3 separate regions of the Homo sapiens genome follow, and all the other regions are linked to region 1. The links are contacts of gene promoters, found by promoter capture Hi-C in human tissues and cell types (Jung and others, 2019). All regions are on one chromosome and are shown on one strand. The core of a region is centred on a gene start or on the middle of the fragment in contact, and the rest is flanking DNA. Distances in the headings are between cores, read along the strand shown. Region 1 overlaps SPATS2 (spermatogenesis associated serine rich 2). Region 2 holds the start of PRKAG1 (protein kinase AMP-activated non-catalytic subunit gamma 1). Region 3 holds the start of NCKAP5L (NCK associated protein 5 like).

What was found. The method cuts DNA at HindIII sites, captures the fragments that hold promoters and counts their contacts. A contact is called where the count stands out against the background at its distance.
Region 2: the fragment with the promoter of PRKAG1 here is called in contact with a fragment that was not itself captured in region 1 in 1 of the 25 tissues and cell types used here (dorsolateral prefrontal cortex).
Region 3: a contact is called between the fragment with the promoter of NCKAP5L here and a fragment that was not itself captured in region 1, in 1 of the 25 tissues and cell types used here (dorsolateral prefrontal cortex).

What each region holds. Positions count from the first base shown.
Region 1 is chr12:49,368,013-49,370,807 of GRCh38, forward strand. All of the region lies in intron 1 of SPATS2 (spermatogenesis associated serine rich 2), which reads left to right. Among named protein-coding and RNA genes, the nearest start is that of SPATS2, 1.9 kb to the left of the region's middle. RefSeq lists an enhancer at 1,826-1,965. The HindIII fragment of the contact is 3,639 bases long and covers 1-2,795 here.
Region 2 is chr12:49,017,445-49,020,144 of GRCh38, forward strand. PRKAG1 (protein kinase AMP-activated non-catalytic subunit gamma 1) reads right to left here and starts at 1,332. Exons shown (of 12, transcript NM_002733.5): 1 at 1,288-1,332. The coding sequence starts at 1,296. It overlaps KMT2D (lysine methyltransferase 2D), which reads right to left. Exons shown (of 55, transcript NM_003482.4): 55 at 1,534-2,700. It overlaps DDN-AS1 (DDN and PRKAG1 antisense RNA 1), which reads left to right. Exons shown (of 2, transcript NR_147179.1): 2 at 792-1,796. RefSeq lists enhancers at 373-963, 1,536-1,735. The HindIII fragment of the contact is 13,264 bases long and covers 1-2,700 here.
Region 3 is chr12:49,827,047-49,829,746 of GRCh38, forward strand. NCKAP5L (NCK associated protein 5 like) reads right to left here and starts at 1,367. Exons shown (of 13, transcript NM_001037806.4): 1 at 1,276-1,367. It overlaps BCDIN3D-AS1 (BCDIN3D antisense RNA 1), which reads left to right and starts at 1,497. Exons shown (of 3, transcript NR_027501.1): 1 at 1,497-1,698; 2 at 1,889-2,037. RefSeq lists enhancers at 776-825, 1,241-1,819, 1,820-2,398 and a silencer at 1,086-1,495. The HindIII fragment of the contact is 7,341 bases long and covers 1-2,700 here.

The sequences.
Region 1 (2,795 bases), core at 57-2,556:
ATAATGAGATTTGAAAATAAGGGAGAGAAGGGCGTTCTTGGAATTGAAGGGGGAGACGAAATGGAAAATCAGGCGAACAGACGCAGAGACATAAAATAGATGTGGTTAGGACTTGGATTAAAGCAGAAAGGTAGATTCAGTCAGTTTTGGACTACAGTGATATTTTTCTCATAATTCATCCAGAATGATTAGGTTCTTTTAGAAAGTGGATCTTTCTCAAGCTTGTCCCTCTGTTAAGGAGTACAAGCCGTTCTTTAAATAATTTGATTATCGCTTGTCCATTTTATTGATAAAACATGCCTGTGATATTTACTTCCCCTCTGTTTAGCAGGCTACTGTTCCTAATTTACCTACGGTTAATGAAGCAGGAGAGGACAGATCACCAAAAATATCTTGCTTTAAGTTAGGTCAGTGATAATGCAGATTTCAGTGTTTTGGAGAGAACCAAAAGCTTGGTTGTTTGTTTTCAGTTTGACCAAAAGGTGATGGATAAAATTAAGTTACCTGTACTTTGTTAGAATTGCAATTTCTCACTGAGAAATGTTCTTGTGCCATCTGCTACTGGTTTTGTGTTTGTGGGAGAGAGTTGGGGTTCTGCCTTAAATTATTTCTTGATGTTAACTTCAAATAGGCTGCCTCATACCTTCCAGTTTCAATTAAGGTGATTTGGGAATATTGATTATGATGTTTGCATTTCCTTAATATTTGGATTTCCAGACCAAATTTGTGATTGTACTAGATAGAAAATTGCCGATTTTGAAATTGTAATGACCATTGTGTGCTCCTAAGTAGTCCATGTTAAGCCTTTTATTTGTTGGGCATTAAGTTTTGCTGACTCATCTAAGATTTATGGACATTAATCAGTTTGTATTTCTCAGCTAGGTCTTGGATGGTAGCATTTAGGTTACTTTACAAAGGTCCAAAAATAATGATTTAAATTGTTACTTTTCTTAGATGTTATGAAAATTGAACAAAGCAAGAAATGAGTGCAGTGTTCTCATTAGTGACAATGTGCCTCTTTTTTTTTTTTTTTTTTTTTTTGAGATGGAGTCTTGCTCTGTTGCCCAGGCTAGAGTGCAGTGGCGTGATCTCGGCTCACTGCAACCTCCATCTCCCGGGTTCAAGCGACCCCAGCCTCCCAAGTAGCTGGAATTACAGGTGCCCGCCAGCACGCCTGGCTAATTTTTGTATTTTTAGTAGAGACGGGGGTTTCACCATCTTGGCCAGGCTGGTCTCGAACTCTTGACCTCTTGATCCATCTGACTTGGCCTCCCAAAGTGTTGGGATTACAGGCGTGAGCCACCGCAGCCTAATGTGCCTCTTTTTTAATTGACCTCTTTCAGTGGGCTAGCCAAGGTGCTAAGATTTTTTTGTATGTATTATCTCATTCAATCCTCACAATTATTTCATATTTTGTAAATTAAGAGGTTAAATAATTTACTAAGGTCACAGAGCTAGTAAATAACAAAGCTTTATTCAGACCTAGCTGTATCGGATGCCTTTTTTAAAATCTTCACTACCTGTTTGCTCTTTCTGCTTCACCCTCATCTTGGTTATAGTAAAGCAGCATGAACTGGTTGAAACTTGGGTCTGATAACTGTGATTTAGATGAAGATTAAGTTAGTAGGCTGTAGCCTACTCTGTGGAGTTCATTGAAGGTTTACTGCTCCTGTGATTTAACAAAGGTCTGGGATCCTGATAAATAGGGCTAAAAACATCTTTTTGCTTAGGATTTGTCCTGCGACCACACTTAGTTTTCTGTTTAGTCTTATACTGCTGAGGTACTGTGCATACGTGGCACTCTTACTTGTAGAAGTCAAGACAGCCAGTTGTGGAGCCAAACCAATTAACTCTGGAAAACAATTGAAAACTGCTCAGTACTCAGGTGCCCTTGAGCCCACAATTGGTACTAGCATTACCTCTAAATATAGATAGGATCCTTTTAGAAACCAGGAGTGAAACAACTAGAACTGAGGGAAACAGCTGGGGCCTGAGGGAGGAGCCACAGGTTATGGCCAAAACATGAGCATAGCCCCTGGAGGCCGATCAGGCTAAGACAGGAGGGAATTTTCGTTTGTTGAGCATTTATGTATTCCAGGCGCTGAACTCAGTGTACATTATTACCTTATCTGTTAGTTGTAAGTATTATCCTTATTTTTCAGATGAGGCTCAGAAGGGCTAAAAGTAACTTACACAAAGTCACTTTATAATGGCAGTGAAGAAAATTTGTGTATACTATTCTAAAAATTGCTGCTTTCAGTTTCCCATTGTAGGGTCACCATATTAAAACTGGGAACTAAAAGTCACTCTTTCAGATATACCTGGCTTCTCATGTGTGTAACTGATTATTTCAGTCTTGCTGCTTTCATTGGAAACTGGAAGGAAAAGCTTGTATTTTTTGGATGTAATTGTTAGGAAGTACAGTCCATTCATTATATTACCAAATGACCTGTAGAATATAATTCAGCTTCCTCAGTTGCTTAGTGTATATCTGCAGCAACATGAAAATAGCATGTCCATCCCTTCTTTTCTGGGATCTTCACTTTCAACGAAGTCATCTAGACTCTGGAGGATGACAGTGAAGCTTGCCTGTTACAGACTCTTCCACTTTTCTCAATATGTTTGACAGTTGTTCTTGGTTATTTATTTATGTTTTAGAGACAGGATCTCGCTATGTTGCCCAGTCTGGCCTCAAACTCCAGGGCTTAAAAGATCTTCCCGCCTCAGCTTCCAGAGTAGCTGGTATTGGCTAGTTTGTTTACTCCCCCCCAACCTCCTCCCACCTGCCCAGAAAG
Region 2 (2,700 bases), core at 82-2,581, 350 kb before region 1:
CAAGCAATCCACTTGCCTTGGCCTCCCAAAGTACTGGCATTACAGGCGTGAGCCACCACACCTGGCTGAGTTTTCTTTTTCCTCTTTTTAACTTCTACCCCAGAGCCTAATCCAGTACATAAAGTGTAAAGGCTAAATTAGAAAATCTATATAAAAATGCTTTGTAAACCATAATACATTTACAAGTAAGTAGAATATGACATGTCATTTTAAATTTAATGGAATTAGACTCCTTATTTTTGTTTAAGATTATCCTGATTAGTCAGAATTGGCTCCCTTGCCTGGGAGACCAACTGCGAATCATTTTAGTACTTTGGTCGGTTTTCTTTTTGAAAACCTGAAAGAAACAACCTCTCTGTGAGCAGAGAAACGGTGTGGCAAAGAATTACTCTGGGCATGTAATCCAAAGCAAAGTGAACCTGCAGTCCTTTCGTAACTACAGTAGCAGATGATAAAAACCAAGATGGAAAGAGTTACTCTGCCTGAAAGAAGACACATGGTTAAAAACTGTGGAGAGGGAAGTGTATGGGAGGGGTTACAGAGCGCTAGAAAAAGACTCCTGAGAGTGAGGGTGGGTGCAAACATGTAGCAGGCAACCCGCAGCATCTGTGGGAGGGTGACAGGGCCCTGCCACAATTGGTCAATGCCTGCTCGCCAAGAATGAGCTATGCCAAAACCCCTGCTTAGAGTCGCAGAGCGGGCCATGACCTAAAATTGTCCAGGGACACATCGGCCTCTAACACTGCAAGATTTCCTCTTTCAAGCAAACCTCAATTCTCGGTCTTATTAAGGGAATGTGACTTCACTGGACGCAGTATAAAGATCTTCAGATGTCCTCCTGCCGGGGATTGCAGGGATCACAGAAAGACCATCGAGGTCCAGGAGCTACCTGCAAGCGGAGATCCCTCTGGACGCCCCGTGCCTCACCCAGCAAAGCCGGCTCACAACCCTGCGCTCTCAAACCTCTAAAAGGGCTTGAGGTGCCAATAGGAAAGGAGGCCCGAGATTGCCACGGCATACGTGGGCCCCAAGGAGGGAGCCAGGAGTCACTGCCTGCTTGGGCTAAGGGTACCGCGTACGGAAAGGCGGCGGGGACGCGGCCCAGTTCCAGGAGATGCGCCCAACGAAGAAGCGGAGGAACAGGGTCACGGGATAGGGCAGACACCCGGCTGCTTTTTGTTTGCTAGACACCAGCGCCAGCCCCTGCCCGGCCCTCCCGGTCTCCTAAGGGTTGGGGGGGTGTCTTAGGCTCCACAGCGCCCCCGACCGCCCTCCTGCACTCCTCACCGTCTCCATTGCAAGAGGCGCCCGGCTTGGTTTCCTCGCTTTAGGAAACTCTCTTGGGGCAGGCCCCGCCCCACATCCGGTGCGGCGACGCCACTTCCGCCCACGTCATGGCAGTCGCCAGACTGGGGCGGAAGGCAAGGAACCCACCCTTCCGGCGGTGGCGGGCCTCGGTAACCGCCCTCCCCCGGGTCCTCGCGGACCGCACGGATCCGGCTGACGGCGAGGGTCATGGGACGGAGCCGCTTGTATTTAAAATGTTCTTTTTTTATTTGTCGTTTAAAAACAAACTTGGAAGAAGCAAAATCCAAAACTTGCCCTTTGCCTCTCGCAACATAAATATGTACAGTTCAGAATGATCGCTGATACAAAACATGCCAAGGACAGGGGCGCTGAGGGTGGAGGGAGAGAGGGCGCTTTAAAAAAGGGAACCATTTCATCCGTTGTTACGAAGGACCAACCTTGCTGTACAGGATACACACAACACAAAATAAAGTCTTCACGGGATTCACACTTGTCAGCGATTTATTTTTTAAAAAGGGGGAGGGTCCTGGAGGTGAGGGGAGAAGACTGTAAAGGGGAAAACTGAAAACTGAGTATGTGCGAGTGTAAACCAACCCAAAATACAAACACGGGGGCGGGGGGTGGGGTGGGGGATTCTGATGCAATTATACAGGCAGGGTACTTAAAAAAAAAACCAACCAAAATTCCAACCTTGTAGCTTGGGTCTGAGTTATAGTTTATATAAAAATTAAAAACTGTATAAGGTTTCTTCACTAAATTCTACAGGACTATCGGATACCTAGCATATGCTTACAAAGTCTGCCCCATCCCCTTTTCCCAATCCCAGGGCCCAAGCCCCAAACACAGCCTGACTCACGGGAGCCAATCTCCCCCTCCCTGTAGCCTAGACCTTCTGCTCTCGGAAAAGGAACATCCAAGGGCTGTGGCTTTGAGGGCAGCAGCCCAGTCTTCCTACTGTCTGATTTAATTACAGCGGTTCCTGTGGGAGTGGGGGCTGTTATTCTCTTAAACATTTGCAGCTTGAAACAGTTGAGGAAGCAGCTTTAAAAAAAAAAAATCTCCCTACCCCCAACAATCCACAACCCCCCAAATTCAAAACAAAACAAAAACAAACCTAAAATCACAACAGCGACCAAGCTCCCCCTCCAGCAGGCCCGCCCGTCCACCACCACCAAGCCCACCCCTACACTCCAGACATCTGATTCTTGAAAATATTAATTACAAAATGCCCTTTGCCCACAGCCCCTAGAAGAGAACTGCATATAAGCTTCATCTTCATCCCCACGGTTCCCTACCAGAGAGGGGTTTGGGGCCTCACCCACCCCTTACCTACTCCCACCCCCAGGAAGAGGTTCAACTGCAGCACAAGCTTGGGCAGAAAGGGGAAGGAAA
Region 3 (2,700 bases), core at 117-2,616, 460 kb after region 1:
ATTTGAGAAGTGAATTTTCCTATCACACAAGGAGTCTCAGAGAGCCAGATGGCGTAATGTCTGCAAGGGAGGGTCTGCAACAAGGCAAATGGGCTATGTTCATTTTCCCCGAAAGTACTGACCACAAAACGGTAAGGCATTGACACTCTTTCTACTGCTCCCCAGGCCACCCCTGCCCGGGCCACTTCCTCTGGCTGACCATTGTGCTTAAGAAGGAGGACCCATGACAGACGCGGAGAAGTGGGAGGGAGGGATTGCCTCTACAGCCAGAGAACTCCTTAGCCCAAGACCCCCAGCTCCTCAGCAAGGCAGGCCTTTAAGAAGTAGCAGCTGGACAGACTAAGTGGACTCAGCTGATCCAGCCCTGGGATGCCTGGAAAACCAGGCCTGTGGGAGGTGAGGGCCCTCTGTGCCCTTGGGGCCGTGCCAGGACTGGAGATAACGCGGGACCTTGGGCCCAGGACAGGGAGAGGGGAGCTAGGATCCGGGCAGCCGCTTTCTTAGTTGGGCTAAGCCAGGGAAGCGTCGGGCACAGATGAATTCTCTGCATTCTTCTGGCACCGCAGCCAGCACCCAGAGGGCCTTTTCTGCAGACGCTGCCCTGTCCCTGCTCCCTGCCCAACCAACCCTTCTCCCTCCCTTAGCTTCTCTTCAGCGTGCAGCCCACCAGGTCCTTCCTCCTTCCCGCAGCCCCTCAAAGCCTTTGAAGGGGCTGTTCTCTAGGAGACCCGGTCTTTCCGCCTCTCCCCGCCTTCCCCAGGCCCTACCGCCCCAGGCCACGGGGAATGGGAAGGAGTGCGAAAGGGAGCCCCAGGCTCGTCTCCGCGCCTGCGCTTTGGGGAGAGAGCCCCTCCCCCCGCAATAACCCGGCACCGCTAAGCGGCACCCGGACGGTGGGATGCGGGTTGGGTGGGGTGAGCAGCTGGGGCAAGGTCAGTGCTTTCAAAGAGGGAGGGGAGCCCGGCCCCCGGAACATCCCCCACTCCCGAAAGTTTCCCTTCCGGGGCCACGGAGTGTGCGCGAGGATGGCGCGGGGGGCGGGAGGGGGTGGGGTGGGGGTGCACAGAGTCGCAGCCGGACCCCCGAGGAGGGTGCGGCTGGAGGGAGGGACGGAGGGGCGGGCAGCAGGGTTTGGGCAGGAAGCCGCGACGCCCTCTCCGACTCTGTACTGCCACGAGAGCCTTACCCTCCACACCCCACTCCCCCCGGCCCGGAGCTACAGATCGCCCCCCCGCACTCGCCGCCCTTTCAATCCCAAGTAGACCCAGAACTCACCGAAATCAGGTGTTGAGCTGGGCCAGGGCAGGCCGGATCCGCCAGGTCCATGGCCGCGGCTTGGGGGCGGGGGGCAGAGAAAGGGGGGTGCCGGAGCCGCCTCCTGATGTCAAGGCTTTAAAGGGGCCGGGGAGCCCCGCCCCTGGCCCTGACCCCGCCTCCCTCCTCCCTAGCAGCCAATCCACGTTCAGCCTGGATGCGCGCCCCTCCCAGCCCCCTCCAGATGTTCCCAGGACGCGAGCTAAGTCTGCCCGGCCGGCGCGCGCCGCTTCCGCTTTGGTGGGAAGGACCTCCCTTCCCCCTTATAGAAACACTTTCTCCAGGCCGGGCCGGGCTTGGTAAACCTCAGCCGTGCCTGGGTAGAGGACGCCGGGCTGGGCCGAGCGGGGGTGGAATGAGGGCGTCTAGAACAGAGAAAACTAAGTAGGTGCGCGCGGGCCCACAGGCATGCGCGTTTGCTTCTGTGGGGCTGGGCGTGCACGTGTATGTGTGGTTGTGAGCGTCGGTGTTTGTAATTTGCTTTTCTGCATACGTGTTGGGTGTAAATCCATGGGGGAAAGGCTTGAGTGCCTCTTTGGCCTTAAATGCTCCCGCCTCTCTCTTCCTTCTCCAGGATGGGGTCGTCCCCCCAGTAATCTGGAAAACAGTTACAGCAACAGGCTCCTCTCATCAGACGGCAGTGCTGGTCGTTTCCTCACTGGTTTGCGGGGAAGGCTGGGCAGAAAAAGGATGCAACCTTGTTCTCAACCACTTGCTATCTCGGTGAGGATGAGGAAAAGCAAACAGCCCATCCAGGCCCCTGCAGAGCCTCAGAGCTTCAATATCATTCCCATTAGTCCTTAATTAAACACCTATTTGCCCTTGCCTAAATACCGTATAACCCTCACAGCCTGCATTGTAGTGACTGCCCCAGAAATGTAGGTTCTCACCTGGGTTCTGCAGGGAAATACGAAGGAATCCCTAGGTACAGTCTCCGCCTACTTCATTAAAATTTCTTTTGTTGCGAGTATACAAAGGATGCAGCTTAGAGTATCATATTAGTCCAATAAAGGAACATAAAAAGTAAGGCAAGTTAGGGTGCTCAGATTGGCTAGGATTAAGAGTTCTTTTCTGAAGGAGGTTTATTTAAATACGGAATTTGAAGGGCAGAGAGAGCTTGAGTAGGGTCCAGGCAGGGTAAAGGCCACAAGGAGATTCAGATAGGAAAGAGCAAATTATCTGCGTGGGACCGTGAGCAGATCACCGTGGTACGTTGGGAAGTGGGAGAAATTAATGGAGGAGGTTTCTTATGGAGGAGAGCAGAATAAGGATATGGATGTGACAAGACATAAGATAAAGAAGTCATTTTGGGTTCTTGAGCATAGAGGTAGTTTGATGAAAAGAGTGCCCAAGGACAGCTATTACTGGAACCTAAAAGATGTCTTG